Regions from separate parts of the Homo sapiens genome. Here all the other regions are linked to region 1. The links are contacts of gene promoters, found by promoter capture Hi-C in blood cells and fetal thymus (Javierre and others, 2016). All regions are on one chromosome and are shown on one strand. The core of a region is centred on a gene start or on the middle of the fragment in contact, and the rest is flanking DNA. Distances in the headings are between cores, read along the strand shown. Region 1 holds the start of MKX (mohawk homeobox). Region 2 holds the start of MIR8086 (microRNA 8086). Region 3 has its middle 63 kb from the start of MPP7-DT.

Region 1 (2,700 bases), core at 108-2,607:
GCAAAAATGTAAACCGGCCTTCCTTTATGGTTTACATTGTACCCCTGCACAACGGTTTGCTATCGCGTAATTTGGGAGGTGACACATATGAAATTTGAGGGTGTGATTAGTCTTTAAAATAATAGTTTTGGTATATATTTTAAGCACTTCTAGCGACCCCCCCAACACACAAACACACACACACACACGCGCACACACACACACACACACGAAGAAGATGCTAAGGTGGGCCACTGCCCCGGCTCTGGCCAGCCGCATTTAGAGGGGAAAAGGACAAATGGCGCTATTTCTTTAAGCTTGGTGGGGGGAAATCTAAGTTTGTTCTTTAAAAAGGGCGAAAGTTCGCTAGGACCACAGGGCCTTCGGCGAGAGCGCAGGCAGCTTCGTGTTGGCACCTTGGGGATCTTCTGGGCTGCCAGAAGCTCTGAGCTTGCAGTTGCACCTAAACCGCCGCTTTCGCTACTTATATTTGCGGTAATGTTAGGAAGCAAAGTATCATCAATCAGAGAATCTGGTAGCCATTCTCTCTCTTTGCCCTGTGTCCCAGCTTGTGATTCTTCTAAGTTCCATCTCCTTTGCTGCGTGCAGATCCTTGGCTTTGGGCGCGCTTCCTCTTCTGCACTTGGGCCACCGCGGGTTGGCCACCTGGGCTGAACTCATCCCATCCTTGCTTTCCCCCATCCCTATACCCAGCGGCGAGGGCAGCCTCACCAGCCCTTGCCCCGGAGGTGAATGTGTGCCTGGCTTTGACTGAGACAACTAGGACCCCAGAAGCCCAGTGACATCAGAAAAGAGGCTCCTGGGCACTAGCACTTCCCGCAATACGCTCCAGGGCTGTAGGTGCAAAACGGAGCTCTAACTTCCCTCCAGCTAATCGAGAGGAAAATACAGGGCGCGTCACAGTGGCCTCTCCCGCCTAGCCACGCGCAGTGAAATTTCCGGCAATCGGGCCAGCTAAGACACGGGATTTGCACCGCAGCCTCTCAGCTTCTGGAGCCGGAGCCGAGCGCTCCCGGCAGCTTCTCCAATTTCTCTCCTAAAGTGCGAAGGGAAAAGCCCCGTCTGCTCCACGACTGCAAGGCCGGCGGATCTGGGAGCCGCGCCCGGCTCCGGAGGACTCGGCGGGCCCGGGGCTCCCCGGCAGCGGCTCCTCTGCTAGGGGTTAACAGCAGCCCCCGCGGCCGGGCGGGCGCGGACGCTTCCTCTCCACCCGCCCGGGAACGTGGATACCGCGCCCGCAGGATGTTCGCCGGCTGGGACCGGCAGTCAGGAAACATGAGAAGGCCTCGCTATTCCTGTTCCCGGGCGGCGCGCGCCGGGCTGGGTAAATAAAGCCGAGACGACGGCGGTGGCGGTGGTGAGCGCGCTGGAGCCCGCGTGGAGAACATGCGGCGGGGATGGGAGTGCGCCTAGTCTCGAGGCGGGAGAGCCAGCCGCCCTGCAGCCGGCCGTCGGCCCCGCAGCCACAGGTACAGCCCCCGCGTCGCCGAGTCTCAGCCGGCTGCGGCGGAACGCCAGGCTCGCTCTGGCCCCTGCGCCCTGGGCGCCGGTGCTCTCCCGCCCTTCCCCCAACTTCCCTCCAAGGTCTGGTGGAGAGGCGCTCGGGTAGCGGCCAAGGCTGGCCCAAGGGTCTGCGCGGAGCTTGGGAGCCCACCTGGCCGCGCCTCCTTTGCTTTAAAATTATTCGCCGGCGTTGGGGGAGGGGGACACTTCTGCAGGGAGTGACCTCCCCGGCCACAGTCTGGAGTGAATCGGGGTAAGTGATTTGAGAAGAGGCGCGGGTGGCCGCGCGCGGGAGTCCTGGGAGGGTCAGCAAGTGTGGTTCACACGCCCCCGGACCCCTTGCGACAGGACAGCGCTCGGACCTTTGCCATCGCTTGCCTCTGAGCCTGCTGCCTGCAGACCTACAGCGCGCCGGGTGTCTGTGTCTGCGATCTCTGCGTGGGCTTGGGGCTGCCGGGGAAGTGTCCGAGGTGGCTAACCTCGTGATGACTTCGCTAGGAAAAACACGTCGTCGCATCTAGGAGGACGCGCTGGGGTGGCTCGGAGAAGGCCGGGCCGGGGAAGGGTGTCTTGTACAAATAAAGCAGCATGAACACACATCCCTAAGGGCATGATTTTAAAAGAAAACACCAACGCGAGTCTTGACTGTAGAACAGGGGCTGCAAGCACGAAAATTCTCTTTGACACTTATCACCGAGGCTATGTGCACACCCCAGGCACGTACCTGTCTGCGCGGGAGGACGCAGTCCTAGGGGACACACGACATCCAGCAGAGGTCTGACTTCACTTCCCTACGAACACAGACCGTAGCCGTCGTTTGATCGCGGTGGTCACGCGTGGTCCTAAATGTCACGCGTGGCCTCTGCTGCGGTGGCCGAAGGGCGGGGCGGGGGCGTTGGCGAGTGTGGGCGCTTGGCGAGGCAAAGGGTGTGTGTGTGTGTGTGTGTGTGTGTGTGTGTGTATGCGCGCGCGCGTGTGTTAGTGGAGTAGCAGCCCATGCCGCGGCTGGACGGGCAAAGGGGGCGCTGGCAGCGAAGCTGAGGCCGCTCGGAGGAAACGGGAGCTGTCCCGAGGCGCGAGGCGAGGAGATGGGGCGGGCGAAGTCCGCCGCGCGCCTTGGGGCTGTAACTCTGCGGCTCCGCGGCCGCGCGGACTTGCTCCTGACGCCGGTGCGCGGCAGGCAGAGGCTCAGGGCCT
Region 2 (2,700 bases), core at 1-2,500, 540 kb before region 1:
GCTGTTCATGATAATATTCTAATATCCTGAAATACTAGAAACATCCTAAACTGTGCAGCAGTAGGCATTTATTCTTCTTCTCCATGGACATTGTTAATATATGGTGGCAAAAGTTTACAAAATCGTGTCATCAGGATAATCCTAATTTTGTAACAAGAGAATAAGTTAATTTTCATGTACAACTCTATATTGTCCATGTACTGTTAATTCATATCTGTATGAGTGTGAATGTTCAAATAAAAACAGTTCAATTCATATCAGTAATGGGCATTAAGATTCTAGGTGAGTTACTTCTTTCACGTGTTAGTCTGTTTTCCTAAAATCCTTTTTGTTTAATAAGAAAACTGATTGGGGCCGGGCGTGGTGGCTCATGCCTGTAATCCCAGCACTTTGGGAGGCTGAGGTGGGTGGATCACCTGAGGTCAGGCGTTCGAGACCAGTCTGACCAATGTGATGAAACCCCATCTGTACTAAAAATACAAAAGTTAACTGGTTGTGGTGGCATGCGCCTGTAATCCCAGCTACTCGGGAGGCCGAGACAGGAGAATCGCTTGAACCTGGGAGGCAGAGGTTTCAGTGAGTCGAGATTGTGCCATTGCACTCCAGCCTGCGCAACAAAAGCGAATCTCTTATCTCAACAAAACAAAACAAAATCTGATTAAAAATGACTTTATAATAAGCTGGGATGGGGAGGTGGGGCAGTTGCAGATAAAGTAAGACTGGCCATAAATTGAAGGTAGGTAAGAAGTTCAAGAAGTTTCCTTGTAGTATTATACTCTTTCCTCCAGTTTAGTATATGCTGGAAATACTCTCTATGTTAAAAAAAAAAAAAAAAAAAGGAAAGTAAAAAGACTGTAATTCGTGAGTGGGGCCACTTAGTAAAGGATATAGGGCATCAATACAAGGCATACTTTTATTTTGTTATTGCTCCAAGAGAAACTAATAGAAGATCTTTATGTACTGTATGTATCAATAGTAGCGTAATAGCATTAGAAATCAATGGTTTGGCTGGGCTCAGTGGCACACGCCTGTAATCCCAACACCTTGGGAGGTCGAGGCAGATGGATGGCCTGAACTCAGGAGTTTGAGACCAACCTGGGCAACATAGTGAAACCCCATCTCTACAAAAAATACAAAAATTAGCTGGACGTGGTGGCACATGCCTATGGTCCCAGCTACTTGGGTGGCTAAGATGGGAGCATTGCTTGAGCCAGGGAGGCGGAGGTTGCAGTGAGCCGAGATTATACCACTGTACTCCAGCCTGGGTGACAGCATGAGACTCTGTCTCAAAGAGGAAAAAAATAAAATCAATGTTTCGGCCTTTTTGGGAAGAAGTAAATCATTATCTGTCATGTGGCTTACTGTAGTGACTTCTCTGCTCTTGCCCCTGCCCCTAAAACCTTTTCTCCATTTCTCCACCCAAAGCCCAGAGTGGGTTCGGGTGGATCCTGTCACTCATTTGCTCAGAACCTTGCCGTTTCACGCAGATTCAAGGGCAAAGTCTCCATAGTGGCCCACTCACCTTAGACACTGTATTTGTGAGCTCTTGGCCACACATCTCTTAAACACGCAAAAAAATATTGGAGAGCTGAGACTGCACTTCTTGCCCCAGTTCTTAAGATTTAAGTGACTTTTGTGTTAAGTCTGGTCCTGAAGAATTTACCAGTCTGTTAAAAAGGCAGAGATTTCTGTTGGTTGGGATGGCTGTTTTGATATTTCTTGAGTTAACCAGAGGAGGAAGCGCACGGGAAACAGTTCATCTCAGCTTCCTTAATCCACTAGTCTGCTAGTCTGGACTGATATGGTTAGCTTTTTTTTTTTTTTGAGATGGAGTCTGGCTCTGTTGCCCAGGCTGGAGTACAGTGGCATGGTCTTGGCTCACTGCAACCTCCGCCTCCTGGGTTCAAGCGAGTCTCCTGCCTCAGCCTCCTGAGTAGCTGAGACTACAAGTGTGTGTCACCACACCTGGCTAATTTTTTGTATTTTCAGTAGAGACGAGGTTTCACCATTTTGGCCAGGCTGGTCTCGAACTCCTGACCTCAAATGATCCGCCCACCTCGGCCTCCCAAAGTGCTGGGATTACAGGTGTGAGCCACCATGCCTGGCCTGGTTAGCTATTTTTGAGACCAGAATCTCAAGAAAGAGGTATGTGCTGAGCTAAGAAGGAAAAAGTGCTGCTGACTTCCCCCACCCGAGGTCTTCTAACCTCACACCCGAGCCTAATACAAAATATTCTGCTCATAAGGCCCTTTCTCAGGATGGCTGTGGCTGGTGGTTCTTGGTGCTCTAGGCCAGACATTGGGCTCTGCTGAGCTTCCAACTTTTAGCGTTTGTTCAAACAGGAACTCAAAGAATAAGGTAATTCCTGAAGGCTCACTTGAACAAGCACAGCCTTGACCTCAGCTCCATATCCTTGGAGCTGCAGTTTTCAGACTTGTTTCAGTACCGCTTCACGCTCTTAACAATTATTAAGGACCTCAAAGACCTTTGCTTTACATGAGTTATATCTATCAATGTTTACCATATTAGAAATATAAGTGGGAAATTTTAGAGTATTTATGAATTCAATAAAACATAATAACCTGGCTGGGTGTGGTGGCTCATTCCTGCAATCCCAGCACTTTGGGAGGCCGAGGTGGGACGATCACTTGAGGCCAGGAGTTCGAGACAAGCCTGGGCAACATAGTGAGACTTTGTCTC
Region 3 (2,700 bases), core at 62-2,561, 620 kb before region 1:
GAAAATGGTTTTTGGCTGAAAGATAGCTTGGCAAGAAGCTTGACTCTTCAAAAGGAAGCCCCTGTAGAGAGCAGATAGGCTCTGACAGTGGGGGGCACAGGTCTGTGTCCATTTGTCACACGATTTTGAAACTGGCAGGGGTGCCCCTGCTGCTTATATCACAAGAGGGTTTCCACAAGGCACGTGTTCTCCAGTGAGGGTTCTCAGTAACTCATGAGCCATTTGCGACTCGGTACAAATTCCCAGGGGCCCAATCTCTCCTCTTTTGCCTGCTCCACCTAATTCTAGATTAATGTCATGGGTGGGTGAGAAGAAAAAGAAAATTATAAGACTTTCTATCTATTTTTATTTTTATTTTTTATGACACAGGGTCTTGCTCTGTCACCCAGGCTGGAGTGCAGTGGTGCAATTATGGCTTACTGCAGCCTCAACCTCCCAGGCTCCAGCTATCCTCCCACCTCAGCCTCCTGAGTAGCTGGAACCACAGGTGTGCACCACTACACCTGGTTAAGTTTTGTATTTTTTGTAGGGATGGGGTCTTGCTATGTTGCCCAGGCTGGTTTTGAACTCCTGAGCTCAAGCAATCCACCTGCCCAAGCCTCCCAAAGTGCTGGGATTACAGGTATGAACAGTCACGCCCAGCTTCTAGCTATTTTATTTTAGATTCAGGGGGTGCACGTGCATGTTTGTTACATGGGTGTGTTGCATCCTGGTGGGACTGGACTTCTAGCTTACCCATCACCCAAATAATGAACGTTGTACCCTTTAGCTTTTTAAATAGTAACAATGAAAGCAAATCTGAAAACCACTGGATTATACACCCCAGTCTATAAAGATAGAAGCAAATTATATGTAAACACTGCATACATGTTGGGGATCAGCAAACGATACCCCAAAATATGGTGCTTTGACATACTGAAATAAAGAAGCAGCCTCAAGTTCACTCTGACCTTCTCCCCACCTCCAACTCCTGTCTCTTCACCTTCTGTCTCTCCCAAATGCACAAGAAGAGAATGTTCTCTGAAGTTCCCTAATCTAGGTAGAAACTGGACCCGCCAAAAAGGAACACAATTGCCTTCAATATCCTCCCTGAAATTTCATTAACCTGAGAAGATTAAAGCTTGTATCACAGAGGAGACTGAAAGTGAAACACCACACCTGGAGCCCAGATGAACTTTGTCCCAAACTATCATCTGTTCTCTGATCCCATTCAATTTCCAAAGAGAATCATTTACTTACCATTGTCTGAGCATGGGGCTCATTCATCTCCCCTATAAATCATTCACTACGTCTAAAAATAGCCATATTTCCCTTTTCTCCCATTCCTCCACAAAGAAGGATATAAAAGCAACTGAGCCTCATTGGGTTACTGGGTAATCATCCTTCTGTGACTCCCCTGTGCTAATGCACATTACATACATTTGTTTGCTGTTTTCTTCTATTAACCTGGCTATTGTCCATTCATGTTCAGCACATCTTTCAGAGGGCGGAGGTGAAGCTTTTCCTTTACCCCTAAATCTGCATAAGCAGCTCACTTTTCAGTTTCCTTCATATGTTGTTTTCATCACTCTTTCTCCTTCTTCCTCCTTTTTTCACTTATCCTATTTTTCTCAACCTGTTTTATTTTTGTTTTTCTCCTCCAACTCTTTCCTATTCTGTCTTTCCTCTTCCTTATTATTTTTCCTTCTTTTCTCTGTGAGCCTCTCCTTCCTCTGTAATTTCTGTCTTCCACAGCAGGCAATAGGAGAGCTCTAGATTTCATGTGCCACAACCTGGACTGGAAAAAGATATGAAGCCAGGTCACGTGGTAGCAACAATTGAGTCTTTTAAAACATTTCCAGGGTCCCAAAGTAGTACTTAGGATAAAACCCCTTTATTGTCTCCATATTGTCTTCTTGCATTAGGATTTTTAAAAATTGCACTTTTATAATGTTTTTTTTTAAACATAACTTAAGGCTGGGCGCAGTGGCTCACGTCTGTAATCCCAGCACTTTGGGAGGCCGAGGCAGGCAGATCACCTGAGATCAGGAGTTCGAGACCAGCCTGGCCAACATAGTGAAACCCTGTCTCTACTAAAAATAAAAAAATTAGCAGGGCGTGGTGGTGTGCACCTGTAGTCCCAGCTACTCAGGGGGCTGAGGCTTGAGAACTGCTTGAGCCTGGGAGGCAGAGGTTACAGTGAGCTGAGATTGCACTACTGCATTCCAGCCTGGGCAACAGAGCAAAACTCTGTCTGTAAAAATATATGTATTTTATTTTATATATATATATATAAACTTAAGAATGTTTGACTTGTAAATATTTCAGTATTATTTTAAAATCAAGGCTAGGATGTGTGGGGGTTTCATACTTGTAAATGAGTTTAGGTTGTATTATACCTGTTGTGATTTTTTTTCATTAGTATCATTTTTTAAAAAATGTTTTTCAAAATAATTTGTGTAATAGATCATCATAGCACTTTCTGTTAGAAAAGTTTTCTTAATTATAATCATTAAGTTGGCTAACTTTTCTGAGGCAGTAATAATGGCTTTTAGGTGATAGGGTGGTGGTAGACTTTGTTTTTTTATTTTTATTTTTTTGAGATAGGGTCTCGCTCTGTTGCCTAGGCTGGAGTACAGTGGTGTGATGCTTATAGCTCACTACAGCCTCGAACTCCTGGGCTCAAGAAATCCTCCTGCTTTGGCATCCCCAGTAGCTTCA

Evidence for each region. Contacts are between HindIII fragments. The CHiCAGO score rates a contact against its expected background, and 5 or more counts as called.
Region 2: a fragment that was not itself captured here is called in contact with the fragment with the promoter of MKX in region 1 in 3 of 17 cell types (endothelial precursors, naive CD4 T cells and naive CD8 T cells); the score reaches 5.8 in endothelial precursors.
Region 3: a contact is called between a fragment that was not itself captured here and the fragment with the promoter of MKX in region 1, in 1 of 17 cell types (naive CD8 T cells). The highest score is 5.8, in naive CD8 T cells.

Annotation. Positions count from the first base shown.
Region 1 is chr10:27,744,476-27,747,175 of GRCh38, reverse strand. It overlaps MKX (mohawk homeobox), which reads left to right and starts at 1,357. Exons shown (of 7, transcript NM_173576.3): 1 at 1,357-1,469. It overlaps MKX-AS1 (MKX antisense RNA 1), which reads right to left and starts at 2,561. Exons shown (of 2, transcript NR_121652.1): 1 at 2,228-2,561. RefSeq lists an enhancer at 1,276-1,866. The HindIII fragment of the contact is 8,324 bases long and covers 299-2,700 here.
Region 2 is chr10:28,288,425-28,291,124 of GRCh38, reverse strand. All of the region lies in intron 1 of MPP7 (MAGUK p55 scaffold protein 7), which reads left to right. MIR8086 (microRNA 8086) reads left to right here and starts at 1,775; the gene lies at 1,775-1,867. The HindIII fragment of the contact is 3,927 bases long and covers 1-2,700 here.
Region 3 is chr10:28,364,559-28,367,258 of GRCh38, reverse strand. No RefSeq gene overlaps it. Among named protein-coding and RNA genes, the nearest start is that of MPP7-DT, 63 kb to the right of the region's middle. The HindIII fragment of the contact is 378 bases long and covers 1,123-1,500 here.